2 separate regions of the Homo sapiens genome follow, and region 1 is linked to region 2. The links are contacts of gene promoters, found by promoter capture Hi-C in human tissues and cell types (Jung and others, 2019). All regions are on one chromosome and are shown on one strand. Each heading gives the region's core, a stretch centred on a gene start or on the middle of the fragment in contact. The rest is flanking DNA. Distances are from core to core; before and after follow the strand shown. Region 1 overlaps ATP5PD (ATP synthase peripheral stalk subunit d). Region 2 holds the start of GRIN2C (glutamate ionotropic receptor NMDA type subunit 2C).

Region 1 (5,691 bases), core at 1,262-3,761, 180 kb after region 2:
GGAAAGAGGGGGAATGTGTTTAGTTAATGTAAACAGAGACGGAAAGCAGAATATCCAAGGCAGGTTCCTGCCACCAGGTGAAAGATGTGTGGTCATGAAAGAGAGAACCCATATTATAGGCAACGGCTACCCATCATCCTTACCTCTTTCTCATATTCTACAATCCTGGCCTTTGAGAGAGACACCCACTCAGCACAAGATTTCACCTTTAAGAAGAAAGAGAAATTCAGTTCTGAAACCAGGCTGCATTCTACCCCAGCAGCTGCTAAGGTAGGAGTCGTCCCAGCCCACTCCTGCTGTCCTATTGCTCTATGGAGAAACTGTGGTTACCCTGAGTGGGGGCGCTCACTCTGACAGGCAAACCACAGCTTTTCTTAACACTCACAGAGAAGCCCATATGGAAAACCAGCTTAGGATGGCAGCACCCGGCTGCTTCTGCAAGTTCCTCATCCGAAGACCTACAGAATGCCTGTTTTCACAGGGCTCAGCCACTGAATGGTCAGGACACGCCACCTGAGCACCTAGCCAGACTTCTCTCTGGTGGAGCCACTGAGTTCCATAGTTGGCCTTCAGTGCTTTCAAGCAAATAATTAGGTATTTGAATACTACTTGGGTAATTTTTCTAATTCCAACTCCTTGTTTCTAACAGCTTTGTTGAGGTATATCTGAAATATGATAAAATGCACATATTTAAAGAACACCATTTGATAAGTTTTGATATAGGTATCCACCTGTGAAACCAGCAGTCCCCTCTCAACCATCCCCAGGCAGCCACTGTAGACAAACTACATTTTCTAGAGTCTTACAAAGATGGAATCATATGCTATACTCTTCTTTTTCTTGTTGGCTTCTTTCACTCCGCATAATTATTTTGAAATTCGTCCATGTTGTTGCATTTATTGACAAGTCATTCCTTTATATGGCTGTTAACTCTTCCATTTAATTCACTCTAACTTAACTTAGCTATAATAGAGAGCTGTCAAGATCAAGAGAATTTTAGAATAAGCAGGAGCCTCAACTACTTACATCTTCTTTTTCTTCGGCATCCACCTGGGCAGTATATTTATCCTCTGGCACGGGAACCTTCAGCGCATTAAACTACAAACACAAGGGCACGGGAACCTTCAGCGCATTAAACTACAAACACAAGGACAGTGAGTCGTCGCCAATACACCCAGGAGCTCAAAGGGCTGGAAGCTACGAATCCTTAAAGGTCATACTGAAAGACATTCTGTGTCCCAAGCGGAAACGAATACGCATCTCAATACTGGAGTAGAAAGAATATTAGACTGGGAACAGGAGCTCAAGGGTCTTCTCAGCCCTATCACTAACTCGGAACCCTGGACAATTCTTTATGATGATAAGCTTCATTTTCTTCATCTGAAAAGGACAGCTGGACTTGATGACCAAAAAATGGCCTCTTAGCACCTTGAATTGTAAAGAAATTCTGATTTCTCTTCTGCATGGAACCCTAGGGAGCTGACTGGTGGAAGGAGCACTGCGTAATGAATGGTCTCCTTAGAAGACTGCTTAGTGTTAGCCGGGTGCGGTGGCTCATGCCTGTAATCCCAGCACTTTGGGAGGCTGAGGCGGGCGGATCACCTAAGGTCGGGAGTTCGAGACCAGCCTGACCAACATGGTGAAACCCCGTCTCTACTAAAAATACAAAAATTAGCTGTGCAAGGTGGCCAGCACCTGTAGTCCCAGCTACATGGGAGGCTGAGGCAAGAGAACTGCTTGAACCTGGGAGGCGGAGATTGCAGTGAGCTGAGATGGCCCCACTGCACTCCAGCCTGGGCGACAGAGCAAGACTCCGTCTCAAAAAAAAAAAAAAAAGACTGCTTAGTGTTATGGCTCCAGCACTTAACACTACCTGGCACAGAGTAGGCCCTCCATACACATCTTTGAATGAATAAGCAAATGAACTCTGGATATTGAGACTTGTGTAAATATCAGAGGAGGATAGATGGATGAGAAATTACAGCTATAAGGGACAGTTAAAAAAAGCAGAGGCTGGGCATGGTGGCTCACACCTGTACTCCCAGCACTTTGGGAGGCCAAGGAGGGTGGATCACCTGAGCTCAGGAGTTCGAGACCAGTCTGGGCAACATGGCGAAACCCCGTCTCTACCAAAAATACAAAAAATTAGCCAGGCATGGTGGTGCTGTGGTCCCAGTTACTCGGGGGGATGAGGTGGGAGGAAGGCTTGAGCCCGGGAGAAAGAGGTTGCAGTGAGCTGAGATGGCGCCACTGCACTCCAACCTGAGTGACAGAGTGAGACTCCAACTCAAAAAAAAAAAAAAAAGAAGAGCAGAGAGGTGGATTGCCTGAGCCCAGAGTTTGAGACCAGCCTGAGCAATATGACAAAAACCTGTCTCTACCAAAAAAAAAAAAAAAACAAAACGAAAATTTATCAGGTGTGGTGGTGGCATGCACCTGTAGTCCCAGCTACTCAGGAGGCTAAGACAGAAGGATGGCTTGAGCTTGGGAGGCAGAGGCTGCAGTAAGCTGAGATTGCGCCACTGCACTCCACCCTGGGTGACAGAGCAAAACTCCGTCTCAAAAGAAAAAGGACAGGAAAAGAGTAGAAAAAAAGTCAGTTTGTTCCAAAGGGAGACAGGAAGGAAGCTAAAAGGAACCCAGGAGGTGGGCAAACATTTAACTTGAAAGCCCCCTGGGGCGTGGTGGCGCATGCCTGGCTGAGGCACGTGGATTGCTTGAGCCCAAGAGTTCTGGGCTGTAGCGCGTTATGCCGATCGGGTGTCTTCACCAAGTTCAGCATCAATATGGTGACCTCCCAGGAGCGGGGGACCACCAGGTTGCCTAAGAAGGGGTGAACCGGCCCAGGTCAGAAACAGAGCAGGTCAAAACTCCTGTGCTGATCAGAAAGCCCTCTGGCTCCCAGATTAAGGCTACACTCTACTGCTGAATGAACAGAGCCTAAATTCCTGCACCTATTTACAGTTCAATCGACCACAAGGCCTTTGGCCATACGCATCCTTCCTAAGCTTCCTTAGGGATCTGGCTGTCATGCTGTGTATGTAATTATCCCTGTTCCTGCTCCCTACCCACAGGCATGTTACAAGCTCAGTGCTTTAGAGGTGTGAAGTCTCACCTTCTTCTCAAAGTCATCCACCAAGCCAGCCTTGGCCACATTGGCCTTGTAGTAAGCCCAGTCGATAGCTGGTGGATTCTCAGGTAAAGCAGCCAACCTGCCCACAAGGAAAGGCAAAAGTTAGGATTGTTCATAAGCAGTAGAAAATTCACATGGTAATTTTCCTATCCCTTCTTCCTATGGCCTGGAGGGTCACCACACTTTCCTCTCCTAAGATCATCATGAAAATGCAAGGATTTCTTTATATGTTGTCATAAGGGCATCAAGAATTCATATGTAATTCCTTAATACTGTTTTGTTTCTAGATTCAGTGGCAAGTATGGGGTTCCCTCTCAGAAACATACTGACCTGGAGGTGAGGGTCTCATTCCAGGATTTCAGGGAACTAGCAATGGCCTTTTGGTTCTGGGGTATGATCTCTGCAAAAGCTACCCAGTCAATGGTTTTTAGAGCAAGTTTTCGCCCAGCCATTTTGGGATCCTGAAAAATAAGTCAAATAAAAACAAGGCTTTTTTATGAGGTGAATTTTCAGTTGGGAAAAATGATAAATAACAAAATAAGAGCTCTTAGAGAGAATCCTTTAAATCTTAGAAACATGCAAGTCTTCACAAGAATCACTTGAACCCAGGAGGTGGAGGTTGCAGTGAGTCGAGACTGCATCACTGCACTCCAGCCTGGGAGACACAGCAAGACTCCAACTCAAAAAAAAAGAAAAAAAGACAGTGTAGCTTTTCAAATTCAAGGTAATTCAAGGTGTGCGGCCAGGCGCAGTGGGCTCACGCCTGTAATCCCAGCACTTTGGGAGGCCAAGACGGTTGGATCACCTGAGGTCAGGAGTTCGAGACCAGCATGGCCAACATGGCAAAACCCCATCTCTATTAAAAATACAATAATTAGCCAGCCGTGGTGGCCCGCGCCATAATCCCAGCTACTCCAGAGGCTGAGGCATAAGAATCACTTGAACCCAGGAGGCAGAGGTTGTAATGAGCTGAGATGGCATCAGTGCACCCTAGCCTGGGCAACACAGCAAGAGTCCGTCTCAAAAAGAAAAGGAAAGGACAGTGTAGCTTTTCAAATTCAAAGTGTGCAATGTGGCATACAAATACATTCTCTCCCAACTCCTATTTAGCCTTAAAAGCCCAGCTCTCTTGGCCGGGCGCAGTGGCTCATTTCTGTAATCCCAGCACTTTGGGAGGCTGAGGTGGGTGGATCACTTGAGGTCAGGAGTTCAAGACCAGCCTGAGCAATAGGGTGAAACCCTGCCTCTACTAAAAAATACAAAAATTAGCCGGGCGTGATGGCATGCACCTGTAGTCCCAGGTACTCAAGAGGCTTAGACAGGACAATCACTTGAACCTGGGCGGCGGAGGTTGCAGTGAGCTGAGATAGCGCCATTGCACTCCAGCCTGGACACAGAGTGAGACTCTGTCTCAAAAAAAAAAAAAAAAACAAACCCCAGCTCTCTTTATCCCCTCCATGTGCCTCTGGAAAAATTACTAAAAATAACACTCTTATTGCATAAAAGTTAATAAAGACATTTCCACCCAGATTGTGTTTTATTCACTGATTCTCCAGTAGACAGAAACTGACACACACCTAAGTTTCAACAAGCCTTAAATAGAGCACTCTCTAGGCTAAAATTTACTTATGTGTACAATGGGCATTATCAGTCCTGCTTGCCCCAGAGGGCTGCTAAAAGTGTCACATGAAATTGTGCACAGCAACTTGCTCCAGAGTTTTACAAACTTAAAAGGGCTATCCCCTTCCAACTAGATTGGTAATACACCTGCACCTTCTTATTCACATCGGATTATACCCTAGCAGCACCAGCACACGTTGTGCACTTTTTTTTTTTTTTTTTTTGAGATGGAGTTTCACTCTGTCCCCCGGGCTGGAGTGCAGTGGCATCATCTTGGCTCACTGCAACCTCCACCTCCCAGGCTCAAGCGATTCTCCTGCCTCAGCCTCCGGAGTAGCTGGGATTACAGGCACCCACCACCACACCCAGCTAATTTTTGTATTTTTTTTTTTTTTTTTGAGACGGAGTCTCGCTCTGTCGCCCAGGCCGGACTGCGGACTGCAGTGGCGCAATCTCGGCTCACTGCAAACTCCGCTTCCCGGGTTCACGCCATTCTCCTGCCTCAGCCTCCCGAGTAGCTGGGACTACAGGCGCCCGCCACCGCGCCCGGCTAATTTTTTGTATTTTTAGTAGAGACGGGGTTTCACCTTGTTAGCCAGGATGGTCTCGATCTCCTGACCTCATGATCCACCCGCCTCGGCCTCCCAAAGTGCTGGGATTATAGGCGTGAGCCACCGCGCCCGGCCCTAATTTTTGTATTTTTAGTAGAGACAGGGTTTCTCCACGTTGGCCAGGATGGGCTGAAACTCCAGACCTCAGGTGATCCACCCACCTCAGCCTTGCAAAGTGCTGGAATTACAGGCATGAGCCACCGCGCCCGGCCTGCATTTTAAGAGGTATTCAACACATGTGAAAATGTGAGAAAAATACAGAAAACGACTACAGCCACTTAAAAAAAAAGTCAGAATATAGGAAAATAGTCCTCTTTAAGTAAGATC
Region 2 (5,493 bases), core at 2,883-5,382:
CAGGGCCTGTGCTACTGGTCAGTGTGCCCTGCTTGCCATGGGGCCAGCCCCAAGGGCCCTCCTCTGCATGGTTCTGCCTGGCACAGAGCCCCCTCCTCCTGGGCACTGGACGTCACTACAGCCCTTCCTTCTGTGGCCTCAGCTAGTAGCAGCTCTTCCGCAGCAGGGTGCAACAGCACTGACTTGTTCAGAGCTCAGGGGTACCGGAAAACCCAAGCTGGTGAGCTGGGGTTTGGTCTTGTTACACATGAGCTGGTGAGCTGGCCTCTCGGGCCATCACTGGCGTGCAGGATCTTTTGAACCCAACCCAGGGGCCTGACACGTATCCTTGCTAAATGTCATTATTTTGGATTGGGACCAAGAGCCACAGCAGTGAGGGTAACACAAAGCCTGAGTGGAGTGGTGCCCACGGATGTCACTCTCCCTCCCAGCTGGCCATCGGCCATGGCACTGCCATCTCTCCCATCTTCATCACATCCCCAGCAAAACTTCTGAGCAGGGAAGAGCTAAAGGGTGGACAGGGTGAGCCTGCCACTCCAGCCCTCCCGCCTCCCCCAGGATCTGCACATCTCTGCTACAGAAATGCTCACGAAAATCAAGCAGTTGCCAGAAACCACGCCTCCGAAAGACAGATGCCCTTCAGGGATGGGGCCCGAGACAACTGCTGGGCAGGCTCCAGCTTTCTCACAGGGCCTTCCTTTTGCCTGCCACCAAATTTCTCTCTCTCTCTTTTTTTTTTTTTTTGAGACAGAGTCTTGCTCTGTCACCCAGACTGGAGTGCAGTGGTGCGATCTCGGCTCACTGCAAGCTCCACCTCCCGGGTTCATGCCATCCTCCTGCCTCGGCCTCCCAAGTAGCTGGGACTACAGGCGCCCACCACCATGCCCGGCTAATTTTTTGTATTTTTTAGTACAGATAGGGTTTCACCGTGTTAGCCAGGATGGTCTCGATCTCCTGACCTCATGATCTGCCCACCTCGGCCTCCCAAAGTGCTGGGATTACAGGCGTCAGCCACCACACCCAGCTATCTCTCTCTTTTTTTTTAATCCAAAGCCTAATGTCTTACAGACATATGGGCCTTCTTGTATCTCTAGTTCTCTCTAAGGAATCCAGAGAGCGGGGAAGTGCAAGAGGCTACCAGGAACATTCAGGAAAGTTCCTCTTCTCCCCAGGGTGGCACTGAAAGGATCCCTCCAGGGAACCCACTAAACCAACTTTAGTGTAGAAACATCAATTGGCCCGTGTGTGCTGAGCCCCTTCCCTGCAGCAGGCGCTGGATGGTGGAATGTCCCTATGGGTGAGACATGGTCCCTGCCCTCCAGGAACTTAGAGTCAAATCTGCAGAATGAGCATGCTGCTGTTAGCACCTCCAACCTCCTTTTTTCTAAATATATTTCTCTTTCCAACCTTCTCTCCCTACTTCCCTCAAACTCCCCAGCCTCCCCGTCAAGATCTTCTCTTAGCTAAGCATCTAGAGCTCATTCACAGGAAGGTATGAGGGACTGATCATAGCTGAAAGGGTTCTCATTCCCAAGAGAGATGTAGTTTAACCACAATCAGAGCCTTAAGCTAAAGTGCCAGGTGGTAGAATTTCAGGCCAAGAAGACAAGAGTTTTGGCAAGGAAGGGAATATTGCTCTCATGGTGGCGCCCTTGAAATCTTCCCATGTGTACGGTTCCCTAGTACAGTGACACAGAAGTGACAGAAGTGACAGAACTGACAGCCCAGAGACATGTTTGAGTCTGGCAAGGGATCGATCCTAGCCATGCCATGCCATGCCTCAGCTGCCACCACCAATCAGGGATGTCAGATCTCAACCACAAAGGACACTGACATGCTTGTCGCTCCCCTTGCACGGCCTCTGTCTGCTCACCTCTGCCCACACCTCCAGGTCCTAGAGGTTCCTTGCCCTCTGGGGAGCCCCAAACCTCCTACTACCCCTGCCTCCCAGTAATGAGCTCTAGATCTGTGCTGCCCAGTATAGGAGCCGCCAGTCATACACGACTATTGGGTACCAGAAACATCTCTCACCCAAACGGAGTTTGCTATCAGTGTAAAATTTCATGCCACACTGCACATTGAAGACAACAGGGAAAAAGAATGTAAAAAATCTCGTAAACACTTGTATCTTGATTACATGTTGAAATAATAACATTTGGGGTATGTTTAGTCAAAGAAAATATACTATTAAAATTAACGTCACCTGTTTCTATTTGTTTTAATGTGGTTACTAGAAAATTTTAAATTGTACTTGTGGCTCCCATTTTATTTCTTTGGACAGTGTGACCCTGGATGAAGGGCCCAGGCTCTCCCTCAACTGCAAAGGGGCAGAATAAGCAGTCTGCCATTAGCATCTCCAACCTCCTTTTTCTAAATGTATTTCTCTTTCCAACTCCCTACTCCCCTCAAGCTTCCACCCTCCCCAGTCAAGACCTTTTCTTAGCCAAGGACCTAGAGCTCATTCACATGAAGGAATAAGGGTCTGGTAATAGCTGAAAATGTTCTCATTCCCACTCTCTCCAATAGGAAGACATCCTCATGGGCTGGGGACACCAGAGACTCTCTCCAAAGGGAAGGTGTCCTGCTGGGTTGGGGGTTGGGGGTCGGGGGGTGGGGGAGTTGAGGCAGGTTGTACCTCTAATCAAGGGGCCTAAAATGGGGGAGGGATCCCAGAATACCTCCAGAGCCAGGGGCCAAAACTAGGTAAGTCCCTGGGCTCCAAATAGCAAGGGGCAGACTCAAGGAGCTTCCGAATTCTGTCTCATCACCCCGTCTAACCCAGCCACCCTACAGAGGTAGGAGGGACAAACTCCACTTTCCCCCGCCACAATCTCCTCCCTTGCCTCCCCCTCCCCACCTCCCACCTACCCACCCCCGCCAGCCCCACTGCACTGCTGAAGCCTTCCTCCAGCCACTGCTCCCTCCTCACACAGGACAGCTACACCCTGGTGCCCACAAATGAAGTCCAGACAGCTTAGTCCCATAGACAGAGCCCTCTGCACCCTGACCGCAACCAACCGTCCTCCCATCCCTGGAACCCACAGCTCTGCCAGTCTGCTGGCCAAACAGCCCCATTCTGCCCTCATCTCCAGGCCTCGTTCCAGCATCCCCCAGGCTGGAATGTCCTCATCCCAACAGAAGTCTACTCTCCTTCAGGGCCCAGCTGAAATCCCTCTCCCACAGGCACCTGCCTTGATGCCTCAGGCTCTAGGCGCAGGGACTGCGGCCAGGCTGGGGCACCTGCCCTTCTTCCCCCTGCCCTGGCTTCCCCTCCTGGGTGGGGAGCTCTGTGTAGTGGTCCCCTCCACCCCTCCATTCTGCCCTGCGGCAGGTGTGTGTGCACTCATTAACACCCTGCCCCACACTGGACTGCGGGCTCCTTGAGGGCAGACACATTGTCTCAGAGACCTCTGCCCACCCACCCACTCAGGGTCTCACCCCTTCCACAAACAGCCCTTAAACTAATGTTTGACAAACACAGAGATCCCCAAAGAGCCCCAGAGAGGATGGCAGTGGTCAGTCCTGCAGGACACAGCAGCATCTAGAAGGGTCTGAGCACCTTCCCAGGCTGGGGGCCTTCTCCTTCCCGGGTCCTCACAGCTCAGCCAGACCCCCTGGCACGGACCTGCACACACATGCACACTCCCGCACTCATACCCGCTCACATCTGAGATACCGATGGCTCTCCCTCTCCCAGGCTAGGAAACTCTGTCGCAGGAGTCCTCCCCACCCACCAGCAGAACCCCCGGACCCCCTGCCCTTCCGGTGAGCCGCCCCTCCTTTGCCGTCGGGTTTCCCTCCCTCCCTTTTGCCCAGCCAAAACCCGAACCCAGGCGCCAGGGGAGAGGACCGCCGTTCTAGCTTGCCCCACTGCTGGGGGCACGGAGTTCTTGCTCCTCCAAGGCTACGGCCCCCGTCTCCGCGGACCCCGCCCGGACTCCCCCTGGCCACCGGGACGCCCCGCCCCCTCCCCTCCGCAGCAATCTCTTACACTCGGGCTGTGAAGTTCGGGGTATTTTTAGGCCGGCGATAAATAATTCATAGGGAACGTGGCATCAGGCTCCCCCCGCGGGAGGAGGGGGCGCGAGCAGCGAGAGCCACCGTCACCCGCGGCTCAAGGACACTCGCGATGCGGCGGCGGCGGCGGCGGCGGCGGCTCCGGGCGGGGACCCGCGCCACGCCTCCTGGCGGCCAAGCTGAGCACCACGCACCCGGCGCCCCCCGCCCCACGCTGCCCCCCGCCGGCGTCCGCGGCTCCGGGGCCCCCACCCCCACTCCCCCAAGCTGGGTCGTGACCCCGAGTCCCGCAGTGGGGGGACCAAGCCAGCCTGGCAGGCGGCCCCAGTACCATCCCAGGCCCGCCCGGGGGCCCTGGGCGAACCCAGGTGTCCCGGACCTGCCTACCTGCCCCTGGCACGCTCTTATTCTTCGGGAGTTTAGAAACAGGCTCAAAGTCACTAGCACCGCCAAGACCTGGACGGGCTCTGAAATACAGCCAGCGGAATGGTACCCTCCCCAAATAAGTGTCTTTCCTCGATTTTCCTGTGGCCCGGGGTCAGGGACTGAACTAAGATAACGCCACCATCCGAGGGCTGGGGGACCGAGCCAGAAGTCCCCTTGGACGACCAGGGCTGGGAAACCGAGTGGACGAATGGGGTGGGCATCAGGGCCTGGCGGGAATTCCCGTCTTGCTCACCCAGCAGCTCCTTGCAGGGTCGCGGGACGCACCTGGGGGTTCAGGTTGCCGGGTGCCTTTGCTCCGCGTGTCCCCGCCCTGCCCGCGTAGGCAGGAAACAGGAGACTCGGGGCTTCCCCTCCCCGCCGTCGGGGATCCTGGGCGAAGCCCCCAGAGACCGGCGCAGGCGGCTGGTGCGCAGCCAGGGCCCAGCGCCAGGTCTTGCTCGCCCAGTGCCCTCTCTGCCTACCCTTCCCTTTGCGCTCTGGAAGCCCGGGAGCCGGGCACGGGCCAGCATCTGCAAGATGCCACTACTCTGGAAGCCCACTCCGATTCTCCCAGGTCGCAGGAAGGAGAGAGCTAGGCTGGGGCAAAGGAGATGGGGCAGAGCTGGAAGGGGAAGAAGCGGGACTCGCGGCGGGGGAAGGGGTCTGGGCGCCGAGGCGAGTGCGCAGCAGGTGCCCAGCAGACCTAGGGAAACTGGGGCACTGGGCTGGGGAGCCGCACAGCCCCCTTTCACCTTCTCGACTCCTTTCCAACCCCTCGCTCTGGTGGATCCCAGCCCCGGCCCCCACTCCCGGCCCTGTTCCCCGCTCTCCGCCCCGGCGGCTTCCAGCAGCAACAGTTTGGGTCCGCGGCAGCCCAGACTCCCCTGGTCCCGCGGTGCTGCCGCGCCAAGCGAAGGAGGAGGAGGGCTCGGCGACCCTGGGGACGAACGTCTTGGACGCTTCGCCCGCGTCCTTCTCTCGCGTCCGCCGCGCGCCTGTCTGCTCGGCCTCTTCTTCGCCTTCTCTCCGGCCGCCCGGGTCAAAACCCAA

What was found. The method cuts DNA at HindIII sites, captures the fragments that hold promoters and counts their contacts. A contact is called where the count stands out against the background at its distance.
Region 1: a fragment that was not itself captured here is called in contact with the fragment with the promoter of GRIN2C in region 2 in 2 of the 25 tissues and cell types used here (lymphoblastoid cells and thymus).

Annotation. Positions count from the first base shown.
Region 1 is chr17:75,039,066-75,044,756 of GRCh38, forward strand. ATP5PD (ATP synthase peripheral stalk subunit d) reads right to left here. Exons shown (of 6, transcript NM_006356.3): 2 at 3,464-3,594; 3 at 3,116-3,212; 4 at 1,027-1,098; 5 at 144-206. The coding sequence starts at 3,585. It also overlaps a transcript of KCTD2 not described here and the pseudogene RN7SL573P. Among named protein-coding and RNA genes, the nearest start is that of ATP5PD, 5.1 kb to the right of the region's middle. RefSeq lists an enhancer at 2,202-2,772. The HindIII fragment of the contact is 3,720 bases long and covers 652-4,371 here.
Region 2 is chr17:74,855,753-74,861,245 of GRCh38, forward strand. GRIN2C (glutamate ionotropic receptor NMDA type subunit 2C) reads right to left here and starts at 4,133. Exons shown (of 13, transcript NM_000835.6): 1 at 3,992-4,133. RefSeq lists an enhancer at 4,960-5,493. The HindIII fragment of the contact is 10,960 bases long and covers 1-5,493 here.